Regions from separate parts of the Homo sapiens genome. Here region 2 is linked to region 1. The links are contacts of gene promoters, found by promoter capture Hi-C in human tissues and cell types (Jung and others, 2019). All regions are on one chromosome and are shown on one strand. Each heading gives the region's core, a stretch centred on a gene start or on the middle of the fragment in contact. The rest is flanking DNA. Distances are from core to core; before and after follow the strand shown. Region 1 holds the start of VAPB (VAMP associated protein B and C). Region 2 overlaps PPP1R3D (protein phosphatase 1 regulatory subunit 3D).

Evidence for each region. Contacts are between HindIII fragments. The study calls those that stand out against the background at their distance.
Region 2: a fragment that was not itself captured here is called in contact with the fragment with the promoter of VAPB in region 1 in 1 of the 25 tissues and cell types used here (dorsolateral prefrontal cortex).

The regions. Positions count from the first base shown.
Region 1 is chr20:58,385,960-58,392,243 of GRCh38, reverse strand. VAPB (VAMP associated protein B and C) reads right to left here and starts at 3,015. Exons shown (of 6, transcript NM_004738.5): 1 at 2,727-3,015. The coding sequence starts at 2,784. RefSeq lists silencers at 2,487-2,606, 2,867-3,306. The HindIII fragment of the contact is 14,716 bases long and covers 1-6,284 here.
Region 2 is chr20:59,933,158-59,939,620 of GRCh38, reverse strand. PPP1R3D (protein phosphatase 1 regulatory subunit 3D) reads left to right here. Exons shown (of 1, transcript NM_006242.4): 1 at 1-2,958. The coding sequence ends at 589. SYCP2 (synaptonemal complex protein 2) reads left to right here and starts at 5,984. Exons shown (of 45, transcript NM_014258.4): 1 at 5,984-6,052. It also overlaps a transcript of FAM217B not described here. RefSeq lists a silencer at 5,294-5,693. The HindIII fragment of the contact is 3,518 bases long and covers 188-3,705 here.

The DNA.
Region 1 (6,284 bases), core at 1,766-4,265:
ACAAAGCCACTAACAGCCATGTCATTCCTTCTAAACACGTTCTACAAGAGGCAACGTGGACACGAGCATCATCCCCATTGACCGAATAACCACCCCAGGCTTTGAGGAGTGAAGTGGCCTAAGGTCACACATCTTTCAGTAAAACAATTGAACAAAATCTTAAATTTTCTCAAATGAGTGCCTCTTTCCATAACATATTAGACAACAGAGTTTGTACTGGGATTTGGGGGTTTTCAGAAAGTTAATGCAAGGAAGGACTGCTCAAGGAGAAGCAACACAATTTTAACTTGGACACTGGCTGCATCTATGCATAAAGGGACTGAGATCTGACTCTTGTCTACTCACCAGCCTTGTCTCCCATCTTGCCAGGCAACCACAACAAATGTTCTTTGTTGCTGTCATTCAGAACCACTAGTGGTGGCCGGGCTCACGCCTGTAATCCCAGCACTTTGAGAGGCCAAGGAGGGCGGATCACTTGAGGTCCGGAGTTTGAGACCAGCCTGGCCAACATAGTGAAACACCGTCTCTACTAAAAATACAAAATTTAGCCAGGCGTAGTGGCACATGCCTGTATGTAATCCCAGCTACTCAAGAGGCTGAGGCAGGAGAATCACTTGAACCTGGGAGGCAGAGGCTGCAGTGAGATGGCGCCTCTGCACTCCAGCCTGGGTGACAGAGTGAGAACTCTATCTCAAAAAAAAAAAAACTACTAGTGGCATCCCAAAGGAGCCCAGTCATCTCAGTGTTTGTGCCTCTGTGCATGCAATTTCCTCTGTCTGAAATGTTCCCCACCCTTTCCTTCTTTGAGCCTTCTTCTACTCGACCTTTATAACTGAGCTCAAATGACACCTCTTTCAGGAGTTGACCTCCTCAATGCTCCTGGAGCACTCTGGACTACCCTACATCATTGTCCTGTCCTGGCTGTTATTCTCATCTGCCCCCTTCCCTAAAGTACTGGGAGGAGGTTGAGGGAAAATAGGAGAGTACAGCTGATATAACTTGGCTTCTCTGGGTATCTGACACACAGATCAGGTACTCAGTAAATGTTTGTGGACTAACCGAATGAACCCACCAATTATCAGGAGAAGCCAAGCCAGGCCTCCCAGATAGAGAAAGAACTTCAGACAACTCAAGTGGAAACTAAGGCTCACTATTTTCACTTTAGCTACCTGGACTTCTTTCCCAATCTGGCATCCCCAGAAGGCCATGAGAACATCATGAAAGCTCAAGTACTATCCTGGAATTACAATCCACGGTAGGTTTGGTGGGGTTTTTCGGTTTTTTCATTTTAATTGGAAAGCCTTTGGTTCTCTGTAAATTCAGAGTTATTTCACATTGTTAACTTGGAAGGCAAAGTGACAGCCACCGTTCTGGAGTATTTCCCAGCGATCAGACAGCAAAACGGTTAAGAGCGTGAACTCTGAAGTCTGGGTTCAAATGTACCATTTGCCAACTGGGTAACTTTGGGTAAGTTACCCTACACTACTTCCCAATAGGACATATAAACTGGAGAGCCTCTGGCCATTCATTCATTCATAAATACCAACTGAGCATCTACTGTGAGTCCGGTGCTAGCGATATAGTGGAGACCCGGCCTTCCAATCTAAAGTACGCTTCCATGGAGTCAGACTGTTCCATTTCCTACACAGCACTTAGCACTATCTGCAATGATCTTGTGTGTTGGTTTGTCTGTCCTCGTCGGAAGGTAAGCTCTGTGAGAGCAGAGGCCTTATCTGTCTTGTGCATCCATCACCTCCCCAGAGCCTCCCACATCACTGGATACACGCAAAAAGAAAGAATGAGCATGTCAGACAAGAACTTTTACCTCGTGGCCCTGGTGAAGGTAGGAAAAAAAAAAAAAAAACAAAAGTAACAACATAGAAAACATAAAGGCACAAATTACAGAGGTAATAGTATCTGGGAGAAACCAGGGTCATGGCTTCCCATCGCCGCAGGTGTTGCTCCAGACAGCTCTGCGGAGAAAAAGGATCCCAGCACCGTGGCAGCCTCCTTGCACCGCAACCAGGAGACAGCATGAGGGACGCAGTGAAAGGAAAATGGGCCCAATCCCATCAGAAGTCCTGAGGAGGTTCATTTGTTGGTTCAACATGTTCATCTGTTGGTTCAACAGGTATTTATTTACTAGGCGTATAATGTGTGCTGGGTACACAGCAGCGAACTGACAAGAGCCTGTCCTCATGCAGTTTCCCTTCTAGTATTGAAACAGTGATTTTGGGTATGAAAAGTGCCGTGCTGACCACGAAACAGTGACGGAATAGGGAATGACAGCAGGTGTGCACGGTGGCTGGGTGGTCACAGCAGGCCTCTCTGAGCAGCTGACACCTCAACTAAGCCCTGAGGTCAACACTGTCACGGAGCAGGGGAAGAAACTTCTAGGCAAAGGCAGCGGCGGAGGCTCACACTAGAGAGGATCACAAACTGGTAAGTTACAAAGTGACAAGTGCCTCGAAGGCAAGTCCCAGGAGGCTGGGGGTCGGGGAGGAGGCGCAGGCCCCGGCTCCCGCACCAGCCCTCTCGGGTCCCGGCCACTCCGGGCAGTTCTGGGGAGCGCGGCGAGCGCCAAGGCCCGGCCCGGCCTCGCCGCCCCCCGCGACAGCGCCGTCGGGGTGGGGACGAGGGCCGACGTCACCCGCCGCGCCGGGCTCCGTCCTTCCAGCACTGGGGCGGAGGCCGCGGGCAGGAAGGTGGCGGCCTCTGGGGCTTACCTCGGAATTTGAGCTCGTGCTGCGGCTCGAGGCTCAGGACCTGCTCCACCTTCGCCATGTTCCTTAGCGGCGGAGCACCTTTGGCGGGGAGACCCCTGAGAGGTCACCGGGGCGGGAAGCGTTAATGCTGCGCCCGCTTTAAGTTTTACAAAAAGGCGGGGACCGGTCGGGGCACGGGCGGGGGTCCTCTACCGGGTGGGCGCGCTGGGGGGGGGTCGGTCTACGCGGTGCAGGCGCAGGGGCGGAGGGCGAGGGCGAGGCCGCGGTGCCCGGCGAGCTGACGGCACGCACGCACGCACGCACGCACGCAGAGTCGTACACACGCACGCACGCAGCAGGCTGGCCCGCTCTGGCGGCGGGAAGCTGCGCCCTGCGCCGCCGGCTCCAGGGGCGGGGACTAAAGCTGCGCGCGTAGAGCCCCTTCCGGGACAGTGCGCAGGCGCGGCACAAGCCACGGGGGCGGGACTGCGGGGCAGTAAGGGGCGGGGCTTCGGGCCGCTCAGGAGGCGGGGTCTGTAGTCCAGCTACGACAGCCACCGCGGAAACTATTAAGGGCCCGCTGGGGGCCAGCTTCGTGTTAAGTGCTTTATTCAATAATAACAATTAGAATAAACTTCCACTTTTCTCTTGCTTATGTAGTGCCAGGCACTGTTAGAGACTTTGAATAATAGTGAAAGTACTTAGTATAAGTATAATGTTTATGGGTGAGTGATATGGGCTAGGCACTGTGACGTCTTGTAAATAATAATTATAAATATAATAAACTACCAATTATTGCTTATTTATTTTGTATCACTCTACTGAATGCTTCCAATAACAACAGCAACTACAATAAATACAAGCTACTCTACGTTAAATGTTTACTATGCAACTGGCACTGTGCTGAATTCTTTACTAGTAAATTCTATTTGTTTATGCAACAAATATTTAGAAATACAATGATCAGAAAAGCGAACCTGATTCCAATCCTTTTACTATAGCCTAGTGAAGAGACATCTTTTGAATAAATAACCACACACGTAAGTTAAATAATTAAAAATTGCTGGAGAATCCAGATCTGCTTGACCTCAAAAGTGGATACTCTACATCATGATTACCGTTTAAATTGTATTTCATTATATTATGTTTACTATGGAAGTTAAATAGGTGTTCTTAATAGTCTCCTATACATACCCATATAGGTGAGACAAATGTGGCAAATTGCTAGCAATGGCTGACTCTACATCGCAGGTATATGGTTTTCTTGTACTGTTTCTCCCACTTTGCTGTATACTTGAAATTTTTCATGATAAAAAGGTTTTTTAAAAGAATAGTCTTTGTATTTTAACTGGAGCATTTAGTCCATTTACATTTATTATATTTACTGATATATCTGGAATTATTTCTACCATTGTATTTTGTTATTTCTATTTGTCCTGCCTGGTTTTTTTCCCCTTTCCTTTCTTCTTTAGGGTTTATTTTTATTCTCATTCTGATTTTCTTCACCTGTATACTCTATTTCTAAGTTTTAGTGGTTACTTCAAACTTTTGGGCATGCATACTTACCTTGTGAAAGTCCAATATCTTTAAATATTTGTAAAAATGTCTTTACCCTGTTTCCTTAAAATATAAAGACTTTGGAGTACTTTAATCACCCATCCTCTAAATTATACACCTTAATGTAGTGTATGTTAAGTTTAACCTTTGCCACTGTAACCCCAAGAGACATTACTAAATTGTTTTATTCAGTCAACATTAGTTTAGATTCAGCCACACAATTACCATTTTTATCCACCTTTTCTTCTTGCATCTCAGCTTTCACCAACAGGATCACTCTCCTTTTGCCTGAGGTAAATCCTTTAAATTTTATTTTTTTGTAGCTTCGTTGGTGCAAATCCTCTCAGTTTCTGCTCATCTGCAAATGGATTCATTTTTGCCTTTTGTTGTTTTTATTTTATTTATTTATTTATTTGGAGATGAGGTCTTGCTCTGTTGCCCATGCTGGAGTGCAGTGGCATGATCGTGGCTCACTGCAACCTGTATCTCCCAGGCTGAAACAATCCTCCCACCTCAGACTCCGGTGTAGCTGGGACTAAAAGCATGCACCACCACGCCCAGCTAATTTTTTTATTTTCTGTAAAATCTCACTATGTTGCCCAGGCTGGTTTCAAACTCCTGGGCTCAAGTGATCCTCCTGCTTCAGCCGCCAAAGTGCTAGGATTACAGGCATGAGCCACTGCGCCTGGCCTTGCCCTTGTTCTTGACAGATATTTTGGCTTGCTTGCTTGAATGACAGCTGTCCTCTCTCAGCACACTTGATTGCCATCCACTGTTTGCCTGTTCCCCCTCATTGCTCCTCAGGAGTCCAGTGACAATCTTAACATCGTTCCTTCATAGGTTGTTGGTCTTTTCTCCCTCTTCTCATGTTCTACAGTTTTACCATGCTGTATCTTTTTTTTTTTTTTTTTTTGAGACGGAGTCTCGCTCTGTCCCCCAGTCTGGAGTGCAGTGACGCCATCTCAGCTCACTGCAACCTCCGCCTCCCATGTTCAAGCGATTCTCCTGCCTCAGCCTCCTGAGTCGCTGGGATTACAGGCACGCACCACCATGCCCAGCTAATTTTTGTGTTTTCAGTAGAGACAGAGTTTTGCCATGTTGGCCAGATGGTCTCAAACTCCTGACCTCAGGTAATCCACCCACCTCGACCTCCCAAAAAGTTGGGATTACAGGCGTGAGCCACCATGCCCAGCTCATGCTGTTATCTTTTTATTTATCCTGCCTTGAGTTCTTTGGGCTTTCTGAATTTGATGATTGGTGTCTTTCATTATTCTTGAAAACTCTCAGACAATACTTTTTTTTTTTCAATTTAATTTTACTTTTTTATTGTGGTAAGATACACATCACATAAAATTTACTCTCTATCATTTTTAAGTATCCAGTGGTATTAACAAGATTCCTATTGTGGTGCGACCTCACCATCATCCATCTCTAGAGCTCCCTTCATCTTGCAAAACTAGAACTCTGTACCCCTTAAGCAATCATTCCCCATGCTCCCTCTCCTAAGCCCCTGGCAACCATCATTCCACATCCTGCCTCTGTGAATTTGACTAGTCTAGGTACTTTTTGTAAGCAGAATCATACAATACTTGTCGTTTTGTGACTGGCTTATTTTGCCCAGCATAAAGTCCCCAAAGTTCATCCGTGTTGTATCATACGTGACAATATCTCTGTTAAATGTTATCTTGGATGGACACAGTGGTTCATGCCTGTAGTCTCAGCAATTTAGGAGGTCAAGGCGGGCAGACTGCTTGAATCCAGGAGTTCAAGACCAGCTTGGGCAACATGGTAAAACCCCATCTCCACAAAAAATACAAAAAAAAAAAAAAAAAAATTAGCCACGCATGGTGGTGCATGCCTGTAATCCCAGTTACTCAGGAGGCTGAGGTGGGAGGACTTGAGCCCAGGAGGTGGAGGCTGCAGTGAACCATTATACCATTGCACTCCAGCCTGGGGTAACAGAGTGAGATCCTGTCTCAAAAAAAGAAGAAATAAAAATAAATGTTATCTCAACCTCGTTCT
Region 2 (6,463 bases), core at 697-3,196, 1.5 Mb before region 1:
CTTCGCCGACGCCCTGGGCTTGGAGCTGGCACAGGTCAAGGTGTTCAACGCGGGAGACGACCCGTCCGTGCCGCTGCACGTGCTGTCGCGGCTCGCAATCAACTCGGACCTGTGCTGCAGCAGCCAGGACCTGGAGTTCACCCTGCATTGCCTGGTGCCCGATTTCCCGCCGCCCGTCGAGGCCGCCGACTTTGGCGAGCGCCTGCAGCGGCAGCTCGTGTGCCTGGAGCGTGTCACTTGCTCGGACCTTGGCATCAGCGGTACGGTGCGCGTGTGCAACGTGGCCTTCGAGAAGCAGGTGGCTGTGCGCTACACTTTCTCGGGCTGGCGCAGTACCCACGAGGCGGTGGCGCGGTGGCGCGGGCCCGCAGGCCCCGAGGGCACGGAGGACGTTTTCACCTTCGGCTTTCCAGTACCGCCCTTCCTGCTGGAGCTCGGCTCCCGCGTGCACTTCGCGGTGCGCTACCAAGTGGCGGGTGCCGAGTACTGGGACAACAACGACCACCGAGACTACAGCCTCACATGTCGCAACCACGCGCTGCACATGCCTCGCGGGGAGTGCGAAGAGAGCTGGATCCACTTCATCTGAGCCGCGCGGGGACCGGCCACCTGGAGCCTCCACACCTAAGCTGCGCCTCCTGTCATTTCCCTGCTGGGCTCTCACATCTATCTGGTTGTTCTTCACCACCCTCCAAGTCCTCTGACCTAATTTTCTGCTGCAAGGTCCCCTGGCAGTGGCCCATCCTGTCTTCTACTTGAAACGTCTGAGTCACTTGGTCTAAAAAGTAGCCTCAGGTGGCCAGAAGGCCGAGTTGTGTAATGAGTTGGGGCAGGGTGGTGGGGTAGGTGCATGGGAGGGTGGGCCCTCTGGGGAGGCCCAAGCAGCTTGTTTTGCAAAGGCCCAAGTCCTCCTGCTAGGAAAAGCTTTTGCATGTGTCCTGAATGTGTCTCTGTAAACATAGCTGTTATTTATTATTGTGATGTTGGGACCTTTAGCCCATAGCGGATGCCTCCTCAGGAATATTCTCGATTTAATAAGCTAAAAAAAAAAAGTTCTGTGTTTGTGCCCACAGTAAACAGAATGTACAGTGTGACCCACATCGTGGTCCCTCCAGGCATTCCTGCCCCAGGATAAGGAAAACCTGAGCCCACATCTGATTGCCAACGGCTGTAGCCTTCTAACAGTGGGAAACTATTAATAGGCAAGAAATTTCTGCTTTATCAGTCATCACACAACCATTCCTGGGCATTGAGACTGTCCTGGTTAGGCTGTGTGTCTCCTACATTAACAGCTGGGGAGGAGGGAAAAGCTTCAGACTTTTAAACTAGCAAAACAGTTATTTCTCTGCATTCACAATTCTGATTTCATGTATTTCTCTGTACATGTTTGATCATTATCAGGCCATTCTGTTTAAGTTTGAAACTAAGCATTTTAAGAAGTCTTGCCTCAGTTATTTCAGTTTTCAGGTGACTAGAGAATTTCAGGCAACAGTGCCCTTTGCAATTACCTTTTTGATGATTAAGGTGACTATTTTTATTTCTTGTTAAGCATCAGAAGATGTCAGCATTCATCTTTTGGGAGTCCAGTTACAAGGTGGAACTAGAAGGTGTTTTCAGCAATAGCCAGAGCACTGGAGGAAAAATAATTGACAAATATTTATACTTTTAAATTGTTTTGAACTGTATTTACATACATCATGTTTTATCAGGTACCCACCAACTTTATACTTTCTGCCTTCAGATAGAGTTTCTAACATTTTCTAGTTTGTCAGTTTTAAAATATAAAATTCTTTTATGTTTTTAAACCGTCAACCAAGAAGTCAAGACCACTGTCCCCTGCTGAGTTAGGCAATCACTTAAAACTCCAAAGAACTCCAGGCTGAGGAGTTCTTTTGGTGCTGAACAGTGGTCTGACAACAGGTGCTAGAATTAAGGTGTGGGAAAAAAAAAAAAACAGCCAGGAAGGACAAGATCTCCAATTTGTGAAGCTTATGATACAGCTGAAACCAGTCTGATCAATTTTATGCTACCTGTCACCAAGAAATTAACTCTAAATTTTTGAATGCTTGTTGGCATCTGTCAAATCAATACTGAAAGGATGCATTTCGGCTTTTAACCAGTTTGGTTCTGATCATTGCAACCTCTGTGCTTTTATAATTCAAAGAACAAGGATAGCTTTCTTCGGTATCTTTTAATATAAGAACACTGAATTTTGGCTTGAAATATTGTGACTAAATTGCACAATCTCTGGCTATTAGCACTGTTCACTACATTAACATGCAAGAGAGAGAGAAGCCTTGTTACATTTCCTGCTATTTAACAAACTGTCCAATTAGGTCAGCAAGCCTGTTAGGGCCTTCACTGCTACGCCCCTGGCCCCAAAACAGAGAGCAAGACAGTTGTCCAGAGAATTTAGATATGAGTTAAGAGCTGCCAGATTTATTTTAAGGCATGTAGAGAATCTCATAATCTATGTGAAAGTCACTTGCCAAAAAGGTTTTGGTTATGAAAGTGAATGTTATATATTTAATATTAAGTGAACCTCCCGTGCCTTTTAAAAAATACCAACATTATGAAATTTAAAAGCTTAAATATATTTGCCTAGTTGATAAAGAGGCTGTGGAACAACTGAAGGAGAACTTTCAGACCCTAAAACAGTTATATTACTTAGATGTTAAAATTTTCTAGTGGGCTGTGCAATTGCTGGGTTGTCCCCCCAAACATATTTTAATATGTTATTTAAAATGATTTTACCCAAGCCTAAGTATTAAAGTATATGTGCAAAAACAGTTGTGAGCCATTCTATTATGCTTCAGTATGTTTTTCTTGTGGCCTAATTACAGAAGACCAAGCTTTAGAAACTTCTTGTCTAAATCATTTCACATGCAAGTCTTATCCTTTCTACAACACTGATAAACGTAGAGCCTTGGCAAAAATAAATTTTGTCATTGTGCCTCAGCGTCAGTAGCAGAGTTGTTGTATGTGTCTTTGAGAAAAGGAAATGCAATTTTATATGCCAGGTCAGCATGAGGTATGAAGAAAGCTCTAGGGGAATACAGGGAATGTGATCATTAATGTACTTCTCTTACAACAGTTAATGACACTGTGCAGGCAGTAATGAGTGTCTGTCTGTCTGCCTTCCGGATCGTGACCCTCACCTAAGTACAAAGTCTTGCACATGGGGGAAGAAAACTTACATTTATTTTGTCTTCCCTTATTTGCTTGGCCACAGTGCTAAGTGCTTTAAATATGTGATTTCATTTAATTCTGAATGTTATGCTACCTGGTAGACAATATCCCCTTTTTCTTAGCTGAAAATAAAGCTCAGAGTGGTGTAAGTACAGCCATAGGCCACATAACATTTCACTCAACAGGGTAACTGTATATATGACGTGGATCCATGGAATTATACCAGATTTTTTTCCGTATCTTTTCTGTGTTTAGATACACAAATACCCTTGTGTTACAGTTGTCTACCGTATTCACTGCAGTAACATGCTGTATACAGGTTTGCAGCCTTGAAGCAATAGACTGTACTATATATACCTGAGGTGTGTAGTAGGCTATACCATCTAGGTTTTTGTAAGTAAACGCTAAGATATTCACACAATAACAAAATTGCTTGAGGAGGACACCTTTCTCAGAACTTACCCCTATCATTAAGCAATACATAACTGTAATTCACCTAAAGTCCCATAGCTGGTAAGTAACAAATTGAACATTGAAACCTGTTTCAAAGTCAATGCTCTCTCTACCTGTTATATGACATATAGAATATTGCAAATAAATGCTTGTTGATTCAGAAAGCTAAATTAATTGAACGCCACATTATGATATTTCTCTTTTTTGAGAGAAGGTCTTGCCTTGTCACCAACGTTGGAGTGCAGTGGTGCAATCATAGCTCACTGCAGCCTCCAGCTCCTGGGCTCAAGCAGAATTCTCCTACCTCAGCCTCCGGCGTAGAGCAGCTAGGTGCACAGGCACATGCCACCACGCCTGGCTAATTTTGTTTTTTTGTAGAGATAGGGCCTAGCTATGTTGCCCAGGCTAGTTTCAAATTCCTGGCCTCAAGCAATCCCATCAACTCAGCCTCCCAAAGTGCAGGGAGTATATGTGTGAACCACGGCACATAGTTTCCAAATTTTGATTATAATTGAGAAGGTTTTTCATGAAATGCCACGGTCTAAAACCTTTAAAAAAAATTAACAGTAAAATTAATGATATCCTTTTTTTCTTCCATGTTGTAGTTTACGGATGTTTACTAAATAATCCGCAGGCTTCCTGAACACATGAAGCAATAAAAAAGACTAACATTTTTCTTCAACTAAAAAGCGGCAAGGTAAAAAATCATCACTATTAATTTTTGAAGTGTATTAGGAAAATTTCTGTGCGTTCGCAACTCCACCATGAAGGATCTTAGATCTATTGGCGGAAAACTAGGTATGAAAATAATTATGCAAAATTGCCAGGTCACAATTTTGAAGCACTCTTCGATCTTCTTACATTTTGTGTTATACATTATTAGTACTTAAACGTATAATTCAAAAGCATTGAAAGCTTTGAACATATAAAATCCCCTCAAATCCCTGCGTACACCTGTGTACCTTAGATTGCATATGTAATCTGTCAGCTCTGAATTAAAAAACTAAGATATCAAAATTAAGTTCAATGGGGGTAGTTACAAAGTTGTCAAGAAGTTGGTAATTCTAGCTAAGCAGAATATTTAAAACACCTCTGAGAGCTTATTTACTGTGATTTGATCTGCTCTGGTCCACAACTGAGCTTTGATTCTATTACCTTGTGTTTATTTTTTTCAGGTGCTTTCCACCGCACATTTAAATCTTAATCCCATATTTTTAAACAATTAGTGCCTTTTAGATAAGAAATTAAAATGTTATTAAAATATAATTTTAAATTTTGATTTGAAGATACCTATAAAAGTTTAACTACACATACAATTCAACTTTTAAAAATTGATCCGACACAAATATTAATCCAAAGGTGGTTTGCTGCAGTATTATTTGTAATAGAAGTGTAGGCTCATCAGTGGAGGATTGAATTCCTCGGATGAAGTTAATCCACATGATTAAATAATTACGAAGCTGTTAGAAAGACCGAGCTGCATCTCAGTGCACGTGGAACAGTTTCCATCTCAGAACGCGAGCACGGGGAAAACACGCAGAAGACTGAGCGCCGAACACCGACGCCCTCTGCGAGCCAAGGGGCAAGGAGACCCTTTCGCGGCTGTGCCTGTCTCAGAAGGGCCTGCGATTTTTTACACAAGCACCCGCTGGCTGCATAAGTTAAACGGATCTCTTAAATGGAAGCGTCTGAAAGAGCCTAGGAATACACAGTTGGGTACCCAGCTCAGCACCCCGTCTCCGGACCTGCGGTCTCTCCCGCCCTCCGGCACCCGCACCCAGGAGCCCAGGCGGCCCTGCGCCCCCTGCCGGCAGGAGCCAGGCCTCACCCAGGAGTCGTCGGCCCGGCGCCCTGGTCCCCCGGTCCAGCTCGCCCCTGCAGGGCTGGCTGGAGCCGCGGGTCCCAGTGGCTCTGGGGACGCATAGCGCGGGGATGGGCTTCTCCTGGTCCCGCCCGCGCTTCCGTCCCTTCCATCCCTTCCTGCTCGCCTGTCCCGGGACCAGGGCCCCAGTCAAGGCAGCGAGTCTCCTCGCTGGCGGGGGTGACTCCGCTCGCGGGGCGTTCATCAGGAGAGCATAGCGCGAGAGGACGGGCCGAAGCGCGGGGACAGCGGGGACCCACTAACCTGAGGGCCTGGCCTGAGCCGCGCCCACAGCGTCCCCCTTGGCTCAGGCCTCGGGCGACCCCGGCGAGCGTTGGCGGGGGTGGGGGGGATGGGGGGGGCGGGACCTGGCTGGCGGCGACGCCGATTGGACGCACTATCGACCGCACCTGGCGCGGATTGGACGGGCGCTTCCCGCCTTCCGCCGTTCGCCGGAGGCGCTGCGGCGGTCCCTGAGGCGCAGAGTTGCGACGCTCGGCGGCATAGGGGGCGGCTCCACCGACACTACGCGGACGCCTCCTGCCGCAGGCAGGTTGAGCAGAGTGCCTGGGTGGGCTTCCCCCACGGCGGGGCGCGGAGGGAGGGTGGGGCTTCGGCTTGGCCTTTCAAGCCGGCAGGCGAGAAGCTTCCGACGGTTGAGGCGGAGCCGTTGTGGAAGCTGCCGAGGGGGAGGGGGTGCGGTTCTGCGGCAGTGGGCGGAGGGGAGGCGCCGAGGCTGGGCCAGGGCGTGGGCTGTGCAGAGTTCGCGGCGAGGGTGGCTCGCGCAGGCGCGAGGCTCCCCATCAGCACCTGCCTGGCCAGCCTCGGCCTCGGGGATGGGAAATGGGCGCTCGGAGCCGCCCCCGCGCGTGGGCGACTCGGTCAAGGTGGCTGAGGCGCGGGGCGGTGCGCTTGGCGAGCGGGGAGCAGGCCTGGGGCTGCGCGCGTCGCCGGCCCGAG